Linked DNA regions of Homo sapiens: region 2 is linked to region 1. Evidence: promoter capture Hi-C in 16 types of primary human blood cells and fetal thymus (Javierre and others, 2016). All regions are on one chromosome and are shown on one strand. Each heading gives the region's core, a stretch centred on a gene start or on the middle of the fragment in contact. The rest is flanking DNA. Distances are from core to core; before and after follow the strand shown. Region 1 holds the start of RFC2 (replication factor C subunit 2). Region 2 holds the start of CLIP2 (CAP-Gly domain containing linker protein 2).

The links. Contacts are between HindIII fragments. The CHiCAGO score rates a contact against its expected background, and 5 or more counts as called.
Region 2: a contact is called between the fragment with the promoter of CLIP2 here and the fragment with the promoter of RFC2 in region 1, in 2 of 17 cell types (fetal thymus and naive CD8 T cells). The highest score is 6.2, in fetal thymus.

The regions. Positions count from the first base shown.
Region 1 is chr7:74,251,670-74,258,107 of GRCh38, reverse strand. RFC2 (replication factor C subunit 2) reads left to right here and starts at 3,709. Exons shown (of 11, transcript NM_181471.3): 1 at 3,709-3,837; 2 at 5,610-5,679. The coding sequence starts at 3,725. RefSeq lists enhancers at 3,316-3,395, 2,869-3,471, 3,806-4,035, 3,472-4,074, 4,075-4,677 and 2 more and a silencer at 3,636-3,755. The HindIII fragment of the contact is 11,375 bases long and covers 1-6,438 here.
Region 2 is chr7:74,286,239-74,292,676 of GRCh38, reverse strand. It overlaps CLIP2 (CAP-Gly domain containing linker protein 2), which reads right to left and starts at 3,270. Exons shown (of 17, transcript NM_003388.5): 1 at 2,943-3,270. It overlaps LOC107986742 (a long non-coding RNA gene), which reads left to right and starts at 3,370. Exons shown (of 2, transcript XR_001745024.2): 1 at 3,370-3,615. RefSeq lists enhancers at 1,628-2,271, 2,272-2,916 and silencers at 2,792-2,861, 2,882-3,351. The HindIII fragment of the contact is 3,709 bases long and covers 1,716-5,424 here.

The sequences.
Region 1 (6,438 bases), core at 2,460-4,959:
GCGATGGCTCCCACCTGTAATCCCAGCACTATGGGAGGCAGAGGTAGGTGGATCACTTGAGCCCAGGAGTTCGAGACCAGCCTGGCCAACATGGTGAAACCCTGTCTCTACTAAAAATACAAAAATTAGCCGGGCATGGTGGCATGCACCTGTAATCCCAGCTACTCTGGAGGCTGAGACAGGAAAATCTATTCAACCTAGGAGGCAGAAGTTGCAGTGAGCCGATATCATGCCACTGTGCTCCAGCCTGGGTGACGGAGTGAGACCCCATCTCAAAAAATAAATAAAGGCTGGGCATGGTGGCTCACGCCTGTAATCCCAGCACTTTGGGAGGCTGAGGTGGGCGGATCACCTGAGGTCGGGAGTTTGAGACCAGCCTGACCAACATGGTGAAACACCGTCTCTACTAAAAATACAAAATTAGCTGGGTGTGGTGGCACATGCCTGTAATCCCAGCTACATGGGAGGATGAGCCAGAAGAATTGCTTGAGCCCGGGATGCGGAAGTTGCAGTGAGCCGAGATCATGCCATTGTACTCCAGCCTGGGTAACAAGATCGAAACTCCATCTCAAAATAAAAAAAAAATAAAAACAAAAACAAAAAATAGCTTAAAATCACAAAGAAATCCACTTGAAAACAAATAATAAATTTTCTTTTTTTTTTTTTGAGATGGAGTTTCGCTCTTGTTGCCCAGCTAATTTTTGTATTTTTACTACAGATGGGGTTTCACCATGCTGGCCAGGCTGGTCTTGAACTCCTGACCTCGTGATCGGCCCTCCTCGGCCTCCCACAGTGCTGGGATTACAGGCGTGAGCCACCGACCTGGCCTAAATTTTCTTTTTTTTATAGAGATAGGAGTCTTGCTACATTGCCCAGGTTGGGCTCAAACGCCTGGTCTCAAGCGATCCTCCCGCCTGGGCCTCCCAAAGTGCTGAGATTACTGGCATGAGCCACCAGGCCCAGACTAAGATAATGAACTTTTAAAATTCAATGTAAACAAGGCAAACAGCATCAAGTGTGCATGACATTCTGGGCCAATGGAGGCTGGAGTGGGCAGAGAGAAAACCAGGCTATCCTGTAGTCCTGATCTTGGCACGCCAGCAGATTTTCAGCCTTACATCCTGCAACATAACTCAGGAAGTAAGCTAACGGTGAAAGTCAAGGTGTCATTCAAACTAAGATGTGTTGCCTGACTTCTCTGACAATTTGATTGGAAGCCTCTGGATTTGGGGAAAGAGGATTTTGGTTTCAATTTTATTTCCTTTCTACATGCTTCCTCTTGGTGTATAACTGCCTTGCCCTCTTGTGATGACAGTCTGGGAGCTTAGCCTCAGTGTGTATTTAATTTCCTGAGATTTGAAGGATTTGCTGGGAGGAATTCTCCGTGGCTACTCTATGCCCTTTCACAAGAGCCTGTGGTTTCCCCAGCACTCCCTGGTTCCCCAACATTGCTGTTTTTCAGTCCCAGGGGAGCGGCTGGAGTTTTTAAGTTCTGAGCTCTGTTTGGGCCCAAGTCCAATAGGTCACAAAAGGCTCAGTCTAAAAAAAAGAAATGTCCTGACAGTGCAGCTTTGCCCTAAGAGTCACCTCCATCTCTGGTTCTCCTGGCATTCCATCAGTTAGAGGAGAGCCCTAGCAGCGCCAAAAGGCCTCCTGTAGAGTGGGGGTTTTTGGAGAATTATGAAAGGAACCGTGTTCTGTACTTATTAAAAATTAGTTTCTAAACTGTGTTATGTGATGGGAGGGATGTGTGTCATAGTGATTACAAGGAAAACATGAAGATTACAAAGGAACAATCCTATGGAAAAACCGCGGAGACATTTCAAGAAAAGTGTATATTTCAAGAGGAGTGTGTATTTTCTCCTCCGGAAAAATAAAAGACCTGTGAATAATGATTGAAAAAACAGACAAGACCGCTCCATCAGTTTAAAGGGGGAATAGGGGAGAGATGGCCAATTCAAACATTTTTTCCAAATTACATGGAAAGAAAAACACTGTGTTAAGTTGTGAATCTGTATACGTTAATACTATCGTTAAAACCAACTGCTTGGCCAGACGCGGTGGCTCACACCTGTAATCCCAGCACTTTGGGAGGCTGAGGCAAGCGGATCACTTGAAGTCAGGAGTTTGAGACCAGCCTGGTCAACGTGGCGAAACCCCATCTCTACTGAAAATACAAGTATTAGCCAGGTGTGGTGGCACACGCTTGTAGTCCCAGCTACTCGGGAGGTTGAGGCAGGAGAATCACTTGAACCTGGGAGCCTGACATTGCAGTGAGCTGAGATCACACCACTGTACTCCAGTCTGGGTGACAGAGTGAGACTCCATCTCAAAAACAAAAAACAAGAAACAAAACAAAGAATGGTCAAAGCACTTGTGAATCTGAAGTACCTACTTTCTTTTCTTCTTATTTTTTTAGAAACAGGATTTCACTCTGTCCCCCGGGGCTGGAGTACATTGACTTGATCATGGTTCACTGTGGCTTCAACCTCATGGGCTCAACCGATTCTCCTGCCTCAGCCTCCCGAGTAACTGGGACTACTGTCGCGTACCACCACAACTGGATAATTTAAAAAATTTTTTTTGTAGAGATGGGGTCTCACCATGTTGCCCAGGCTGGTCTCAAACTCCTCGGCTTGAGGGATCCTCCCACCTTAGCCTCCCAAAGTTCTGGGATCATCATTATTGAATATTATGACAATTTGGGCTATGGGAGGAAAGATTGGGTAGAAAAACAGCCCATAAGAATGCTCAAAACCCTTGCAAGGTTGAAGTATTTACTTTTTCTTTTTTGAGACAGGGTCTTGCTGCAGACCAGGTTGGAGTGCAGTGGTGTGATCAGAGATCACTGCAGCCTGCACCTCCTGGGCTCAAGCACTCCTCCGCCTCAGCTTCCTGAGTAGCTGGAACTGCAGGTGCGCGCCACCACGCCCGGCTACTTTTTTAATTTTTATTTTTGTAGAGACGGGGATCTCACTTTGTTGCCCAGGCTGGTCTCGAACTCCTGGGCTTAATCGCTCTTCCGGTCTCTGTCCCCCAAAGTGCTGGGATTAGAGGGGTGAGCCACCGCACCGGCCTTGAGTCCCTATTTTCCTGGAATGAACATTGCATTTCATCTGACAAAAGGACGGTTTCAGTTTCCTCCTCTGCAAAATGGGGTGGGGGTGGAATTCCCATCTTGCAGCCGAGAATTCCCTGATAATAAACGTCGAGTACCGAGCGCGGTTGAGGCGCAGGAGCCTACCCAACGGGAGCAGCTCACTAGGACATTCAGAGCAATCTGGAAAAGTGGGCACGGGCAGCCCCAGACGTCATCCCCGGACCCCGCTGCCCAGCAGCGCCCGGACGCCAGCGTTGTCCGTGTCCCAACACCGAAGCCCGCGTTTGGCCGCAACCCCTCCAGGCCCTGCTCCTCCCACGCCGCCGCGGAGCGGATCTTCCACAGAAACCACACACAAACGTCCGTTCCGAGAGCGACCTGCTTTCTCGGAAGGCGTCGCGGCCACAGCTCGCCTTCCTGTCGCTCCCAGGCCGGGCGCCAGGTCTCCCATAGCAACCGCGGCCTCCAGCGATGGCCGCCAGGGCACCACCGGAACCCTCTTCGCAGGCACAGAGAGGCGCGGGTACGTAACTTCCGCTCGCGCCCGGCGGAAGCCAGGGGGCGGGGCTTGCGTGGCGGCGTCAAGGGGCGGTGCCTCGGGTGGCGGGAAGAGGAGGCGCGAGAATGGAGGTGGAGGCCGTCTGTGGTGGCGCGGGCGAGGTGGAGGCCCAGGACTCTGACCCTGCCCCTGCCTTCAGCAAGGCCCCCGGCAGCGCCGGCCACTACGAACTGCCGTGGTGAGGTCCCAGGCCGTAAAGAATGGGCGCGTTTGGACGTGAGGGTGGGCGAGTGGCGGGCCGTGCTCCGGAGAAACTCGGGGGTCAGGGGCTCGTTTTGGGGAATCCCGAGGGAGGAGGAGGCCCCGGGTGGCATCGAGATGATTTCAAGAAGGCGACGGACATGGATCGAGAGTGGCCGGTCTAAACTCTGCGAGCGGAGTCTCGCTCACTACAATGCTTATGACAATTAGGGCTACCCCGGGTGGCCACCTACTCTGACCTAGTTGGTTTTTTCAAAAGTTTTTGTGTATAGTAGTGTATGACCTAGTGTTTTCAAAAACTTCAATCTTTTAAAAAAAATATCGATTACATGTTGAAAATAATATTTTGACTGTTAGGTTCAATAACATTTACATTTGAAATTTTTTTAAAAAAATCAAGACGGGGGTTTTGCTGTGTTGCCCAGGCTGATGTCCAGCTCCTTGGCTCAAGTGATCCCCCTGCCTCAGCCTCCTAAGTAGATGGGACTACAGGCACGCACCACCATGCCCAGTTAATTTTTTTTTTTTAGATGGAGTCACACTTTGTCACACAGGCTGGAGTGCAGTGGTGTGATTTCTGCTCACTACAACCTGCATCTCCCTGGTTCAATCAATTCTGCCTCAGCCTTCCTAGTAGCTGGGATTACAGGCATGTACCATCACACCCTGCTAATTTTGTGTTTTTAGTAGAGGCTGGGTTTCACCATGTTGGCCAGGCTGGTCTCGAAGTCCTGATCTCAAGTGATCCGTCCGCCTCGCCTTCCCAAAGTGCTGGGATTACAGGCATGAGCCACTGTACCCAGCCTAGGCCTACGGTGTCTAGCCAGCTATGCTGTGTATTTGGCACACGTCTGCAGAAACTGGCAGGTAATCCTTGCCTGGCATGGTGGCTCACGCCAGTAATCCCAGCACTTTGGGAGGCTGAGGTGGGCAGATCACCTGAGGTTGGTAGTGACCCAAGATCGCACCATTGCACTCCAGCCTGGGCAACAAGAGCAAAACTCTGTCTCCAAAAAAAAAAAAAAGAAAAGAAACTGGCAGGTAAGGGATGAGAAAGGAGCTTGGTTGCACCCATGTTGTCACACCAAATGATGTCAGTGCTGTATGTGCTGGGCCTCTTGTGACGGGCGGACAGGGTTGCAGCACAGTGTCACATTGCTCCAGATGACCTGTGCTGGCCGTGCTCCAGCAGCAACAGGTGTTTCTCTGCTGTGGCAGGTTTGAAGCCTATGCTGTACAATTCTCATGCCTTTAACTTTTCAAATGGCACTTGGGCATCTTATTACATTTTATTTATTTATTATTTATTTTTGAAACAGAGTCTCACTCTGTAGCCCGGGCTGGAGTATAGTGGCATGCATGATCTCAGCTCACTGCAACTTCTGCCTCCCAGGTTCGAGCTACTGTGCCTTAGCCTCCCAAGTAGCTGGGATTACAGACGCACACCACCACATCCAGCTAATTTTTGTATTTTAAGTAGAGATGAGGTTTCACCATGTTGGCCAGACTGGGCTCAAACTCCTGACCTCAATTGATCCACCCGCCTCAGCCTCACAAAGTGCTAGGATTACAGGTGTGAGCCACTGCGCCTGGCTGTCATCTTATTACATTTAAAACTTGCAACCATTTGGCATAGTTGTACTGAATGTATGTAATTTTTTAACAAAGCTCTCAGGATAACCCTTAGGTGCTTTTTGTGGGGTAGTGTGAAGATAACCATGTCAGCATTTTTATGCATTTTCTTAACAGGGTTGAAAAATATAGGCCAGTAAAGCTGAATGAAATTGTCGGGAATGAAGACACCGTGAGCAGGCTAGAGGTGAGTGGCTTTTTTTTTTTTTGAGACAGAGTCTCGCTCTGTCGCCCAGGCTGGAGTGCAGTGGTGCGATCTCCGCTCACTGCAAGCTCCGCCTCCCGGGTTCATGCCATTCTCCTGCCTCAGCCTCCCCAGTAGCTGGGACTACAGGTGCCCACCACCACACCCAGCTAATTTTTTGTATTTTTAGTAGAGACGGGGTTTCACCGTGTTAGCCAGGATGGTCTCAATCTCCTGACCTCATGATCCTCCCGCCTCGGCCTCCCAAAGTGCTGGGATTACAGGCGTGAGCCACCACACCTGGCCTTTTTTTTTTTTTTTTTTTTTTTTTTTGAGATGGAGCCTCCCTCTGTCGCCCAGGCTGGAGCGCATTGGCGTAATCTGGCCTCTCTGCAAGCTCTGCCTGCTGGGTTCACGCCATTCTCCTGCCTCAGCCTCCGGAGTAACTGGGACTACAGGCGCCCGCCACCATGCCTGGCTAATTTTTTTTGTATTTTTAGTAGAGATGGGGTTTCACCGTGTTAGCCAGGATGGTCTCGATCTCCTGACCTCGTGATCTGCCCACCTCGGCCTCCCAAAGTGCTGGGATTACAGGCGTGAACCACCGCGCCCGGCCTTTTTTTTTTTTTTTTTTGAGATGGAGTCTCGCTCTGTCGCCCAGGCTGGAGTGCAGTGGCGCCATCTCAGCTCACTGCAAGCTCCGCCTCCTGGGTTTAAGCAATTCTTCTGCCTCAGCCTCCCCAGTAGCTGGGACTACAGGCA
Region 2 (6,438 bases), core at 2,021-4,520, 35 kb before region 1:
GTGGCTCACGCCTGTAATCCCAGCAATTTGGGAGGTCAAGGTGGGCGGATCACTTGAGGTCAGGAGTTTGAGACCAGCTTGATCAACATGGTGAAACCCTGCCTCTACTAAAACTACAAAAAATTAGCCAGTCTTGGTGGCATGGGCCTGTAGTCCCAGCTATTCGAGAAGCTGAGGCAGGAGAATCACTTGAATCTGGGAGGTGGAGGTTGCAGTGAGCCGAGGTGGCACCACTGCACTCCAGCCTGGGCGACAGAGCAAGATGCTGTCTCAAAAAAGCTCAGAACAATTCTCCACAAAGTAAGCACTTAATATATACTTTTTTTTTCAACCTGCACAAAAGCTGAAGTTCTCACAAGAACCAATGAGCAGGGAATCTGAGGGTCACAAATGCAGCTTCCCTCCCCTGTGTATGGAAGTGGAGGTAGAGCAGGTGGTGTCAAGAGGGCAGAACTGGCTGGGTGCAGTGGCTCACGCCTGTAATACCAGCACTTTGGGAGCCTGAGGCAGGTGGATCACCTGAGGTCAGGAGTTCAAAACCAGCCTGGCCAACATGGTGAAACCCCGTCTCTACTAAAAATACTAAAATTAGCCGGACATGGTGGCACATGCCTGTAATCCCAACTACTTGGGAGGCTGAGGCAGAATTGCTTGAACCCAGGAGGCAGAGGTTACAGTGAGCCAAGATCGCGCCATTGCACTCAAGTCTGGGCAACAAGAGTGAAACTCCATTTCAAAAAAAAAAAAAAAAAAGAGGGCAGGATCAACTGTCAGGGTGGCAGGGCCAGGAGGGGAGGCCAAGAGGGAACTGGGGGACCACACGTGGGCAGGCCTGCCAGGTGGGGAGCAGGGACAACTGGGGCTGTGGGGAGATGGCCTTTCTATCACCAAGGGAGGCAGGACCAGGGAGGAGGCTGCAGTGAGGCAGAGAACAGCAGGTGCCGGGTCAGGGCTAACCAGCAAGGGTGCTGAAGAAGGACAAACAGCCTGGAAGGGGCACGAGCCTCCTCTCCCTGAAACGTGTGTGAGTGGGGCCAGGAAGCCACTCTGTACGGCAGCAACAACACTTATAGGACATCTACTCTGTCACAGGGCACACAGTTCTCCTAACAACCCTAAAAGCCAGATACCATAAGGATCCCAATTTTACAGATGAGGATGTCGAGGCAGAGAGAGATGCAATGTGCAAGGTCACATAGCTAGGGAGTGGCAGAGCTGGGATTTGAACCCGGGCTGTTAAGCTCCAGCATCTGAACTCTTCACCGCCAAGGTAGACAGCAGATGCCGGAAAGCGATTACTGCTCCTTGGAGTAAATTCCCCCTGCTGGGACTTTGGGCTCTGAGTGCAGAATTCCAGGCACCACCTTCCCAGCCTGCACGGTGCTGAGGGCTGGAGTTTGCAGGTGCACACAGGTGTGTGTGGAGGAGGCTCCTCCCAGGCGCCTCCACCTGCCTCTTCTGCCTTTGGAGCCCCTCTCCATCTCCACCGCCTCCACCTGTCCTGAAGCCAGAATCCCATCATTCCCCCGCAAGGCACTGCAGACAAGAATGCATCCTGTGCTCAACGCAGGTCTAAGTTCCTTAAATCCTAAGCTGTTTCTCTAACCCAATAGCCTCCTTTTCTGACTCCAAGCCCTTATTCACGCTATTTCTCCTGCACGAAACCCCCTTCAGGCAACCTGGCAGCAAACTTCTGCAAGATGCTCTATGAAGCTTCCTGGTCTGCCCCATCCTCCAGGGGACCCCCTCTATGCCCCCAGCTTCCCCACTAATGCACTCATCAACCCCCGGGGCTGCACTTTTTGGGGACACCGAGGCTGCTGTCCTGTGGACCAGCCAGCCCCTAGAAGTGCCAGGCCAGGTAACAGCAGCTGAATGAAGGGCTTATTGTTTACATTTACAACCGAAAGGGAAGAGGCTTCTGAAGCACACACGTGGTGCTCCCCGCACCCTCCTCCTCCTCTGCCCACAGCCCTAGGCCACCCCACCCACCTCCCTCAGGCATCGCGCAAGAGTGACGGCAGACCCCCTCATCCCAGACCCCCACTTCTCACCCAGAAGTGAGAGGAGGGGTCTCAGACGTTGGGGGACACACTGCTGGGTGGGTGATTTCCCCCCAAGGTGCTCCCTCTGCCCGTCCTTCCCAGGGTGGGGCTGGGGCCTGCGTGGCAGTGCCCAGTGGGCACCCGCTCGGCCCAAGCTCTGCCTGAAAGGTCCAAACGGGCGGGCCCTGAAGGTTCAGCCAAGCATCCTCCGCGGCCGCCGCCCCTCCCCGGGAGGAGGGCAGAAAATCTGCTGCCTCACCAGCCACCAGCGCCAGCTTGGGGGGACACCCCCTGAGAGAAGCCGCCCGCCTCAATCTCCTCCTACCCCACCTCAGCCAAGCACTTCAACCAAGTTTTGCAAAGGCCATCGGCCAGGCGACCCCAGAGGGTGTAGCAGGGAGGAGAGGGGGGCAGTCCCTGTTCTCCCAGACCCCAGGTTTGGAGATGGGGGCTGCATGGCCGCGCCCACCAGGCTGTGCTCCCCAGGCTCTGTGAGCCCAGAGAGCCCTGCGGCGCGTCCAGCCGTCTTGCTCTGCCCTTGGAAGGGGGTACGGGCGACCCTCCAACAGAAGGGCCAAACCCCCGTCCGAGGGTAGGGACCCCGATGAGGCTGGTGATGCCTTCAACAGGGGGACCCGCAGCCCGGGAATAGCCCCCAACCCTGGCACCCCAAGCAGTGCCCCCTCCTCTCCTACAAGCAACGGGGAAGTTGGGGCACACCCCAGCCAGCTCCCGCCCACGCCCACCGGCCGGCCTCGAACCCTCCCGCCCCCGCCCACGCCCCGACAATGCCTCCGGGCCCGCAGCCCCGCTTTCGGCCAGGCCGCCGCCCCCCGCATCTCTCCGTCCTTTGTTGCCCGCGCGACCCCCTCCCTCGGCCCCTCCAGCAGCCCCTACCTTCGTCCTTCCAGCATCAGGCTAAGCGGCGGGAGGCCCGGAGAGCCCCGGCCTCCTCCTCTCGGGCCCGGGCGCGCTGGGGGGCGAGGATGCTGCGGCCCCTCCCTGCGCGGCGCTGCCCACCGGCTGCACCCCCTCCTGGCGCCGGGGATCCCCGCGATAGGTGCTCAGGGCCCGGGCCTCGCGCCACGTCTCTGGGAAGGCGGGAGGCGCGCACCGAGGCCGCCCAGCAGCCGCCTGCGCGCCCCGCGGCCGAGCCGAGCTGAGCGCCCGCGGAGCCAGCGGAGCCAGCGGAGCCAGCGGCCCGGCTCCGGGAGGGAACAAAAGGGGCCGGCGCAGGGGCGGGCGCGGGAGGGCGGGGCCTGGGGCGGGCGGGAGGGGGGGGCGGGTCAGGCGCGCGTGGGCGGCCTCGCGGTTTTCAGGCCTCAGTGCCTCGCGGAAAGCAGGCGGGCGGGCGGAAAACGCGGAGCAACCTCTTCCCCCTCTCCCCGCTCCATCTCCTTCCCTTCCCAGGCCGCAGCTGTCCTTTGTGGGGCGTCCAGGGTTCGCCCACATCCACCTCCGCGCTGGGCACCTGGTGGTGCTTACATCGCGTTTGGTGAAACGCATCCTCCAGCCATGCTATGCTTGCAAAGATGTCTCTGGTCATTGGGAAGGACGGCAGCTTGGGAAGGTGAGATGCTGTTGGCGCTGGACAGAAAGGATGAGGAGGGGGACAGTGCAGCTGGGGCGAAAACTTCAGGTCTGTGTTGGGGCCAGCGTGGGTGGGGAACTGTGGCACAGGGTCTCATGGTTATCAAGGATCTCATAGCCTGGGCAGTGTCTCACGCCTGTAATCCCAGCACTTCAGGAAGCCAAGGCGTGCAGATCGCCTGAGGCCAAGAGTCCGAGAACAACCTGGGCAACGTAACCTTCGTCTCTACAAAAAATACAAAAATTAGCTGGGCGCGCGCCTGCGGTCCCAGCTACTGGGGAGGCTGGGGTGGGAGGATCGCTGGAGCCCAGGAGGTCGAGGCTGCAGTGAGTCATGATCAAGCCACGGCCCTTCAGCCTGGGTGACAGAGCGAGACTCCGTCCCAAAAGAAAAAAAAAAAAGGATCTCATGGTGATCAGCTTCCAAGATACAAATGAACCCTCCCCAGGACAGGATGCATGTACTGCTATTTCAGAGGAGTTGAGGCAGCTGCCAGGTCCCCTCCTGCGTGGAGAGGCAGATGCCAAGTGACAGCTCAGGAACTAAACAGTGACCAAGCCCCAGCCCCTGTCCATGCCCAGGCTGCGGTTGGCTTCTGTGGCTTGGTTTCCCTCTGTCCCCCCTTGATAAGCTCGCCTGGATGCCTTTGACCTAGCTGGCCGTTCTACCAGTCCTGCCCTGCCCCCTTTCTCTGTTTGACAAATCATATTCCCCCTTCAAAGCACAGCTTAAATGTCCCTGCTTTTCCCTTGAGTGCAGGAATGTGGGTGTTGGGGGAGGTTGTGGTCTGTATGGTGAGACCACTGTTCTGCGGGAGAGAAGTGCCACATACGATCTTGTTCCTATCCCCTAAGGGACCCAGTGCAATGCTTGGCAGAGGGTAGACATCCAGTAATATTTGTTGAATGAATGAATGAACTTACTAAGTTAACATTACCACCCCTCAACTGTCTTGGTATCCATAATCTTTGAGAAGTGAGTGAACCTTTTTTTAGAGAAGGGGTCTCACTCTGTCACCCAGGCTGGAGTGCAGTGGTGTGATTACAGCTCACTGCAGCCTCAAACTCCCAGGCTCAAATGATCCTCCTGCCTCAGCCTCCAGAGTAGCTGGGACTACGGGCATGCACCATGCCCGGCTAATTTTTTGTGTTTTTTATAGAGATGGGGTCTCATTATGTTGGGGTCCAGGCTGGTCTTAAACTCTTGGCTTCAGATGATCTTCCCACCTCAGCCTCCCAAAGTGCTGGGATTACAGCTGTGAGCCACCGTGCCTGGCCTAAACATTTTGACCTCAGTTTCCCCATCTGTAAATTGGGGAGAGTGTTTCAATTCAGTTCAGCGAACATGCAATGCTGTAATGATGGAGGCTGGGCATGGGGTCAGCCCTGAGGGGGTGCCCAGTTGGTGTGGAGAGCCAGACTTGGAGACTAATAAGGGAGGAGGTTCAGAGTGAACTCCAGAAAGACTGGGCTTCTGTAGGAGGTGTGAACCCATAGGGAGGGAGGGGACTCAGGGTGGAGAGGGCAGTGTTCAGGAAACAGGGAGCTAATTGTTCCTTGTGGCTGGGATGCATAACCTGTATATCAACAGTTATAAACCAGCCAGGCACAGTGGCTCACACCTGTAATCCCAGCACTTTAGGAGGTGGTGGCGGGCAGATAACCTGAGGTCAGGAGTGCGAGACCAGCCTGGCCAACGTGATGAAACCCCATCTCTACAGAAGATGCAAAAAATAGCTGGGTGTGGTGGTACATGCCTGTAATCCCAGCTACTCGGGAGGGTGAAGCTTGAGAATGGCTTGAACCCAGAAGGCGAAGGTTGCAGTGAGTGGAGATCATACCACTACACTCCAGCCTGGGCAACAGAAGGGATGGGATGGGATGGGACGGGACGGGACGGGATGGGGCAGGGATTTGCCAAGGTGACATGGGTCTTGCTGGGATGTACCTGAGCTCACCAGCCCCTGCCCAGCAGATCTAGCCTCCCACATGTGCCTCAGGAGGTAGGCAGGGGCCCCCAACCTTCACAGGTACTGCCTCCCTCACTGATGGCCCCCAGTATTATTCAGAGCAACAGCCTGCGGTCAACAGACCTTACCTGGCCGCTGGTGAGTGGAGCTTCAAAGAGCAAGTCACCTGAGAGGGACACCTTTTGTTCTTGCTCCAGATGAGAGAAGACAGGCTTCTGTCTTGTTACAGTTTGCATTTGGGGGGCCGGGCACAGTGGCTCACACCTGTAATCCCAGCACTTTGGGAGGCCAAGGCGGGCGGATCACAAGGTCAGGAGTTCGAGACCAGCCTGGCCAACATGGTGAAACTCCGTCTCTACTTAAAATACAAAAAATTAGCCGGGCATGGTGGCACACACCTGTAATCCCAACTACTTGGGAGGCTGAGGCAGGAGAATCACTTGAACCCGGGAGGCGGAGGTTGCAGTGAGCTGAGATCGCACCATTGCACTCCAGCCTGGGCAACAAGAGCAAGACTTTGTCTCAAAAAAAAAAAAAAAAAAAAGTTTGCGTTCGAGTTTTTCTGCTTCTTTCAGTAGATGAACCTGATGCTGTCTGATGTGAGGGTTGGGGTCCTGGCCTTGGCCCCTGCCCTGGCATCAGGCCTCCGTGATGGGTGGGGAGGCAGGCGGGGGGATCTGGAGGGGGTGTTCTCCCAGCCGACCTCTCACCCAGGCCTTTTGTCTCCACTGAAACTGCTGATTTGGTCATTTTCTTGCTGACGCCGGCTGTGACCAGCAGCCTCACGGGAGGATTTTTCATGGGAAGAGAGAGTTGGGAATAATTTTCGAGCC